Linked DNA regions of Homo sapiens: region 1 is linked to region 2. Evidence: promoter capture Hi-C in human tissues and cell types (Jung and others, 2019). All regions are on one chromosome and are shown on one strand. Each heading gives the region's core, a stretch centred on a gene start or on the middle of the fragment in contact. The rest is flanking DNA. Distances are from core to core; before and after follow the strand shown.

The links. The method cuts DNA at HindIII sites, captures the fragments that hold promoters and counts their contacts. A contact is called where the count stands out against the background at its distance.
Region 1: a contact is called between a fragment that was not itself captured here and the fragment with the promoter of ABCG5 in region 2, in 1 of the 25 tissues and cell types used here (liver).

The regions. Positions count from the first base shown.
Region 1 is chr2:43,798,924-43,803,641 of GRCh38, forward strand. DYNC2LI1 (dynein cytoplasmic 2 light intermediate chain 1) reads left to right here. Exons shown (of 13, transcript NM_016008.4): 9 at 1,918-1,994; 10 at 2,716-2,786. Among named protein-coding and RNA genes, the nearest start is that of DYNC2LI1, 27 kb to the left of the region's middle. The HindIII fragment of the contact is 9,891 bases long and covers 1-4,718 here.
Region 2 is chr2:43,836,449-43,840,777 of GRCh38, forward strand. It overlaps ABCG5 (ATP binding cassette subfamily G member 5), which reads right to left and starts at 2,391. Exons shown (of 13, transcript NM_022436.3): 1 at 2,089-2,391; 2 at 1,386-1,507. The coding sequence starts at 2,231. ABCG8 (ATP binding cassette subfamily G member 8) reads left to right here and starts at 2,523. Exons shown (of 13, transcript NM_022437.3): 1 at 2,523-2,668. The coding sequence starts at 2,606. The HindIII fragment of the contact is 5,779 bases long and covers 709-4,329 here.

The DNA of each region.
Region 1 (4,718 bases), core at 2,185-4,684, 36 kb before region 2:
TTTTTTCCAACACTATAGTTGATCCTATATAGTGCAGTTGAGAATATTGATTCAATATTATGAACAATCTAATTAAGTTAATAAAAACAAAACACAGGCCAGGTGTGGTAGCTCTTGCCTCTAATCTCAACACTTGGAGGGTGAGGTGGGAAGATCAGTTGAGGCCAGAAGTTCAAGACCAGCCTGGGCAACAAAATGAGACCTTGTCTTGACAAAAAATTTTTTTAATTAGCCAGTCATCATAGTGCATGCCTGTGATCCTAGCTACTTAGGAGGCTGAGGCAGGGACGATTGCCTGAGCCTGGCAGTTTGAGGCTGCAGTGAGTTATGATCACACTGCTGCACTCCAGCCTGGGAAGCAGAGCGAGACCCCATCTCTTAAAAAACCAATATGCTCCTCGCCCCCCAAAAGAACAGGAGAAGACTGATAAGTAGAACCAGAATCAGAGAAGAGCCATGAGGATGGCAGGGACTTAAAATTATTATATATGAGGACCAGGAGAATATCACCTAAAATGTGATAACTCTCTAATATAGTTGAAGGAATGTTCCATGGAAAAGTGACTAAATTCATTCTTTGCTATTCTAAGGTCCAGAAAAAGGAATCAATAGAGTTTACTCAAAATATGAAAGCACATTCTAATACTACCATTATCTGAAAACAATGAATTATTTGGGGAGATGAGTTTCCAGGCATTGAGTTTGTTTAAGCAGAAGGCCTACAGTTCTTTGTGAAGGATGTTTTAGAAGTGATTGATGCAGCAGATGGAGGAGTTGGGTTAGAAAACATCTAATGTTCTCCCAGCCCTATCTTCTATGAAATATGTTTGTGATTAGGTTTTTCCTTTCTCATAAAGAAAATAAAATTAAACAGAGCAGTTATATTTCTAAAATTCAGTTAAAGTTTTCTGTATGTATTTTAAAACATGGTCTCAGTAGAAGCATTACAATTATTTCAATGCTTTCTTTAATAAATGTGTCAGATCTTACATATACATGAGTATTCTCATTTGAATACTTTCTCTGAGAGCATTAAGAACTTTCTGTTCTTAATCCAGAATGAGGCTTATCTTGTGGAATTACCATTGGAACCATAACGCTGATACCTTTGCTTCACAATTAGATTTCATTTCAGTTCAAAGTTGTTTTTCCCACTTCCATACCTCTTAGTCATTTTGACTTGGCTGTGAATGACTTTTGGTATCTACAGAAATCCAATCTAGCTTTTAAAGATCTGTAGGGTAACCATATGTCCTGGTATTCATCTGATGTCACAGCTTAATTATTAATAGTACCCAACCCCTTTCATTCTCTGAAATGTTCTGGTTCTGGTTTCCCTAGTTATATACCAGCACTGAAAATATTCAGTAGCTTAGGCACCAAAAGCAATTTAAAAAGAAGTTAAAAAATTACCTTAGTGAGTATCAGCATCATTAGACCAGTCTGCAGTCCCACAGTGACTCTTTGGAAGGCAGCAATACGCCCTTGGATGTGAAAGCTACTTTTGAGGTATACCTCTTATTTTCTAACCAACCCAACTGCATTTTGGAAAATTTTCTTTTAGACCATAATGAGTATGTTTACACACATACAGCCCATAAACATACATTCATATATATATATTTTAAAGAAATTATTTGACAGTGATTATGGTCCATTTGTGTGAGTAGCTGAAATGATGAGTACATAAACACAAGTCCTTTCCACATCATGTACTCATTAAGTTTGAAGAACGAGTTAAAGTTACCAAGATTTCTTTATTCAGGTTTTGTTTTGTCTACTCAAACAGAAGTATTTGCTGGGCAACAAAACAGTGATTCTCTTTGTAATCTGTATTTGTTCAAAGCCATATTTATTTTACCTGTTTCTGTGATTGGAAAATAGAGCATGTAATTTGTTCTCCTGATTTGTTTAAAGTTTACCAGTAAATCAGAAGCTCTATTACTAAAAATACGTGGAGTTATCAACCAGTTGGCATTTGGCATTGACAAAAGGTACTGCTAAGATATTTTTTATATCATTTATTGAGTGATTGATTTAGCCAATGTTGTCTCATCTGATTATTGTTCTACTCAGTCTCTTGTGTCTTGACCAGGAAAGTGACCCAGATGGCTTTTCTTAAAGGGATAATTTCTTTTTAAATTATTATTATTTTATTTATTTTATTATTTATTTTATTATTATTTTTAATTATTAATATTATTATTTATTTTGTCAAGACTCAACATAAAGGGGATAATTTCATATTATTTCCTGCTTCTTATATTCTTTAAATATTTCTTAAATTTTACAACCAAAATGTTACATAACATTTAGTTTGAGGCTGGAATAAAATAATGATAATATTATACTAGCTCCCTGATTTCTTTTACTTCCTTTCCCACACTTCAGTAGCTTCCCTCTACTATCACTTTCTTTTACTGATTTGAAATGGAATTGAAAATTTTGGTATGTATCTTCTTAGCCTTGCTACTTCTCTTGGTTTTGATTTAAGGTAATAGGGTCTGTCACTTTTTTTCCTATAAAATGTTTATTTATGCTATATGTTAATTTTTGAAATCACTTAAATTGATAGTCACTCATTCATTCGGGGCAATGCTCTCATTAGTGGCTAAATGTAAAACTAGCCGATAATATTGCTGTCATATTTACAGGAGAGCGTGGCAGCAAATCTAATTGCTAAACTAATTTAGAATCTTTCTCTTCTCCACGTAGCAAATCAATATGTGTGGATCAGAATAAACCGCTGTTTATCACAGCAGGATTGGATTCTTTCGGTCAAATAGGTTAGTGAACTTATTAAGATTGTTCAATCTTTTTTTAATTGCTTATTGATTTTGTCCTACTCCATGTTCACTTTGTCTCCAACATACTCCTATTTCTGGTTTCATTATCATTGCTGTTATTTCCTGTGTGTTTGTTTATATGCCCAGTATTAATGTAACATGCATCACATTGACATGTTTGTGATGGAAGTGATGTCACCACATAAGAGACTGATTTTTCATTTCTGATCTCTATTCCACTGAAAAACAAATTGCAAGTATTTTCTTTCCCCAACTGATTTCCAGGTACTTTTAAATTTTAGCTCCTTGGCTTTAAAGAAGCTAGGAGCATAGAGTAGTGAGGAAATTCAAAGCTACATATTACAGGCAATTAGCAAGTATATGAGAGACTGAAGTGGTAGAGTAAACCAAAAAGAACACAGTTGTAACAATTAGGTATGATTTGATTTTTTGTTATGAAATAGCATGCCTCATCTAATGGAATGTATTTCCTAAACTCATAGACTCTATAGGCTTCTGAATCAAAAGGAAGTTTAAGAGTTTATATCTCAAGGCCCTTACCTTCCCACAGAAACTGTTTTCATTGTGAAGATCTTTGAGCCTCGCACTTCTTTATCCTCTGCAGGTGGCGTAGTTTGCTTTTAAAACTCTAATGGGCAGTAGGGTTTTTTTTTTTTTTTTGTATTTCCCATCCTCTGTTAGTCTTACAAGCTAAAGGTGACTTGACTTCAAATATAGAAATCTTTGTAATGAGATTATAGATTAATTGGAATGAAAGGAATGGAGGTGATTTTGCTTAGTGAATGGTCATGGAGACTGATGTTTATGATTATAATTAGCACCAACTTAATTCCAGTAGCAGTGAGAATCACTGTTGTACTGATAGATAATGCTGATGGAATTCTTTTGCTTCTATGAATAGTTGGAGGCCAGAAGAGAGTTCATAATTGCTGAATTTAAAAATCATGGCGCCTAGATCTCATCGGAATTAAAAACTTTTGCTCTATGAAAGCCCATGTGAAGATGAATAGACGTGCCATAGTGTGGGAGAAAAGAATTTCAAACCACATATATGACAAAGGACTAGTGTTTAGAATATATAAACTCAACAGAAAAATAAATAATCCAATTAGAAAGTGGGCAAAAGACATAAGCAGACATTTCATTTCAGAGAGGACATAAACATAGCAAAGCAGCACATGAAAAGGTGTTTAATATCATTAGTTGTTAGGGAAATGCAAATTGAAACCACAATGAAATATCACTATACATTTAACAGGATAGCTAAAATAAAAAATAGTGACACCACCAAATACTGGCAAGGATGCAGAGAAACCAGATCTCTCATACATTGGTGGTGGGAGTGTAAAATGGTACAGCCACTCTAGAAAACAGTTTAACAGTTTCTTACGAAACTAAACATGCAACTACCATATGACCTAGAAATTGTGCTGTTGGGCATTTATCCAAGATAAATGAAAACTTAACTCTCACACAAAAAATCTCTAGGCATATGTTCATGGCAGCTTTATGTTTAGTAGTCAAAACCTAGAAACAGCCCAGAAGTTGTTCAGCAGGTGAGTGACTAAACAACTGTGGTACATCTGTACCAGGAAACACTACTCAGTCATACAAAGGAACAAATAATTGATACACACAGACTGGATGAATCTCCAGGGAATCATGCTGAGTGAAAAGCAGCCAATTAGAAAAGATTACATACAGTGTGATTCTATTTATAAAAAATTTTGAAATGAAAAACATTTTAGAAATGGAGGCAGATTAGTGGTGGTCAGAGGGCAGGGATAGAACTATGGATGGGGAGACCAGGGGAGGGGTCGGGAAGGAGGAGGTTATGTCTATAAAACGGCAACACAGGATCTTTGTGCTAGTGGAATTAAGTTGGTGTCTCGACTGTGGTAGCAAATACAT
Region 2 (4,329 bases), core at 1,141-3,640:
CAATCAAGAGGCTTCTGTGGAGCCAATTTGTCAGAAGCTTTTAACCTTAAAATGTAGATGGTAATCCAGTGTAGCAGACACTGTGGTGTGCCACACAGAACCCCTCTTCAGGGCCAATGCAGCCATCCCCCAGCTGCTGAGAACGTCAGCTGCAGAAGATTCACCACAGGGACCCTCCCAGGGAATTGCCCTCGGCCACAAGGAGCTGTCTCACCAAAGGCTAGACTCTCTGGGGCAATGACTGGCTGATGCAGGGGCACAAACACCGACTGTAGGCTCAAATGCAGCTACCCTGGGAAAGAGGAGGAGAAGGATGATGTGGAGAACGGGCAGTGGATGACCTCAGTGCAATTTGTAATGTTTAATTCCTTAAAAAAGAAAAAGAGTCTGGGAAACATAGCAAGAACGCTGTCTCTACAAAAAAAGATAAAAATAAAAATAAATTAGCCGGACATGGTGGTGTGCACCTGTAGTCCCAGCTGAGGTGGGAGGATCACTTGAGCTCAGGAGGTTAAGGATGCAGTGAGCCAAGATCGCACCACTGCACTCCAGCCTAAGTGACAGAGTGAGACTCTGTCTCAAAAAAGAAAAAAAAAGAAAAGAAAAACGACCAGATAAGATCTGATAAGGCCCGATGTTAATACATGAACTTTTAAATATTATTCTCCAGTCTTTTTTTTTTTTTTTTTGAGACAGGGTCTTGCTCTGTTGCCCAGGCTAGAGTGCAGTGGCACTATCTCAGCTCACTGAAGTCTTAATCTCCTGGGCTCAAGCAATCCTCCCACCTCAGCCTCCCAAGTAGCTGGGACCGCAGACATGCACCACCATGCCTGGCTAACTTTTGTATGTTTTTGTAGAGATGGGGTCCCACTATGTTGCTTAGGTTGCTCTCGAACTCCTGGGCTCAAGCAATCCTCTCACCTCAGCCTCTCAAGCTGCTGGGATTACAGTCATAAGCCACTGTGACCAGCCTATTCTCTATTCTTGATTGTATGTCCAAAATATACCATCATAAAAAAGCACCACTGGAATCAAAGATAGGGGCTTAATGGGCATTTTTGTGCTTATTTAATCCTTTTCCTGTCTCTAGGCAGTGTACAGATAGGGGAAATTGTGTTTCCTGAGTACTTTTATATGCCATGGAACTGTGGGGGCTTTTTATATTTTGAAATATGAATTCACGTACATGTTAGGCAGAATTTTATACTCTTTCAAGGATCTTTCTAAAGATTTCACATTGGTAGCAGTTCCATTCACAGTCAGATATCAATAGAATTCATTCTAATATCAAACCTGTGGCTTTCTTGTTACAACTTAATCTGTTTCTTCAATGTGGAGTTTAACTCAAGCCAAATCCTTTTTAGAATCCTCCTTCCCAAGCTTACCTGAGCTTCCTAGGATGCACATGATCTGCCCGCTCTCCACGTACAAGGAGACATCTTTGAGGATCTGCCTGGTCCACTGCTGCCGGCAAGATGTGATGTCCCACCAGGGCCTCACGCGGTGGCTTTAAAGGAAACCCCAGGAAGGCAAAGGCAGCTTGGGGCCCTGGAAGGGGCCACACCCAGGTCCCCAGCATTGATCCTACCTGTGCCCCACCCCAGTAGTCTCCGGACAGGCTCCTAACGTGTTTCAGTCTCTGCGCCCTCCTCTGTAGAACCTGGCAGATAGCGACTGAGGCTGTCTGCCACGTAGGGAGGGGGCCTGTGCTGGAGTTGCTCTGAATGTCCTGTCCGTTTGGCTGCGAGGTGGCTGTCCCTGCATTCTTTCACCAGGTTTCAAGACTCCTTGCATTCGCAGTACCCCCATTCCCATCCACAGAGGGCAGGCCGTAGACACTGGGTTGGCAGGGCACTGCTGCCACTTTGTTTATGCCCAGGCCCTTCCCTGGGCAGGGGGAGGGGCCATTCACTGTCGCTCCATGTTTCCCAGCACAGCCCTTCTCCCTCTCCTCTCTCCACCCGATCCACTAAAGAGGGAGCCCGAAGTGCCCAGACTGGCACTTAAAGAGTGAAGAAAGGCAGCAGAGGGGTGAGCGCCGGGCCCCGCACTCCTGGGGGAGCAGCAGCAGCAAGGGCTCTGCCTTACCTGACGCTGTAGGAGGCATGGAGGATGCCCAGGCTGTGAGGCTCCGGGGCGGTGGCAGGAGCCCCCTCCAGGGAGCTCTGGGAGCCTCTGTTTACTTGGAGACCCATGGACCCTCCGGGGGTCAAAGATGAGAGGTCACCCATGGCCAACAGGCAGCAAAGCTGGGCAAATTTTCTGGTGGCCGGACCCTCCCCAGAGTGGCTTCAGTTGGGGAGCCCGTGGCAGACTGCCCTGCCTGCTCCACCTGACCCCGGAGTCCCTTGGGACAGCAGGACTGGGACTTGGCCACGGAGACCATTATCTGATGTACCTTTAGCCAGCGCGTCCTTATCTTGACAGTGGGCAGAACACACACGTTTGTAGGTGGGCTTGCCAGCAAGGAATGCTGGGAGAGACGGGCCCAGGGCAGGAGGCCGAGGTGTCCCTGCTCCAGGAAACAGAGTGAAGACACTGGCCCTGGCAGGCAGCAGCTGGGTCTAAGAGAGCTGCAGCCCAGGGTCACAGACCTGTGGGCCCCATGGCCGGGAAGGCGGCAGAGGAGAGAGGGCTGCCGAAAGGGGCCACTCCCCAGGATACCTCGGTGAGTGAGCAATGGGAAGTCGGCCCAGGCCTGGTGGGCGGGTAGGAGAAATCAAACCTTTCTCTCTTCCCTCAGGAGCCTTCTGTCCTAGCACCACCCGGACATCAAGCAGTGTGAGGACATGGCCGCAGGACTGTTTCCTGCATGTCAAAGGGCGGAGGGGAACAGATTCAGGGTCCCAGAGGCCTCTGAGGTCACTTCCTGCCCTAAGAAATGCTCTTTTAGGGAAATGATGTTCTTTTGTGTGATGTGGGACAATTTCACTTTTTCTTTTTTCTTTTCTTCTCTTTTTTTTTTTTTTTTTTTTTTTTTTTTTTTTTTTTTTTTTGAGACGGAGTCTCGCTCTGTTGCCCAGGCTGGAGTGCAGTGGCGTGATCTCGGCTCACTGCAAGCTCTGCCTCCTAGGTTCAAGTGATTCTCCTGCCTCAGCCTCCCAAGTAGCTGAGATTACAGGCACCTGCCACCACACCTGGCAAATTTTGTATTTTTTAGTAGAGACAGTGTTTCACCATGTTGGTCAGGCTCAAACTCCTGACCTCAGGTTACCCACCCTCCTCGGCCTCCCAAAGTGCTGGGATTACAGGCATGAGCCACCGTGCCTGGCCAGTTTCGCTTTTTCCGAATGAGACTCCATCATAGAAATGTGCTCACACATGCCAGGGACTCCACTGGTGTCTCCTCCATCCATGTGGCTGTCAGGTTGGTCTCAGTAATGAAGTGATGGGTGAGACAGGGTGACAGACGGCTTTTGTGGGAACATCAGCATGTGTGGCTCTAACAGGCAATCGTAAGTTCTGCGAGAAAGCTGGAAGGAGTAGAAGCAGCCAGGTGGCAGGAGGTGGAGGTATGTTTCCTTCCTCATTTTACCTGAGAAGTGTTTACTCAAGAAATAGCCTTTGACTGAATTCGGGATGTGGCAGGATTTGAAGCAGGAGGCTAAACTGGAAGACAAGCGAGAAGCAGATCCCCACTCCCACCACCTCACCCCATCCTACCTTTCCATCTTTGCCTGTTGTGGGTAGGAGGGAGGAGAGAAAGACAAGCATGATCGAGGATTCCACACCCAATGGGGAAAACAACCTGGACTGGCCTTGAGTTTCCAGGACTTGACTCGGCCAGACCCAAGGAGCCCACCATTTCTAGTCAGTTCTGCAACCACCACATCTGACCAGCTCTGCTCTCTGAATACCCTGTGGGGCCCACCACTTCGGGAAATGTTTAAAGCCTGAATAGAATAGAAAGTCAGCGGGACTTTGGGAACACTTCCTGCCTGGGAGGGCTGACGATTCAGCCACCACAGCTTGAGAGGCAAAGAAATGCTAGGACCACACCAGAAATGCACGCAGGCCCTGCCATTTCTGCTTCCCTTCTGTCCGATCCTGTCACTCCAGGTGCTGAGTGACGGTCTGCCCGTAACACCTGTGGGTCTTGGAACAAGAGGATGAGGGTCACATTTCCTATGTCTAGATATATAAAAGTCATCAGTCAAGCTATAAGAACAGTTAAATAAAATAGTTTCTATCCTCTTATCTTGACATATCTTCCTCACAACCTGAAAGGCCATGTGTAAATTGAGAAATTCTAAGGCAACTTGGCTAGAATGCGCTGGTACGGGGGAGCCACTTCCAGCCCGAGCCACAACCTGTCCCCCTTTTCTGGCC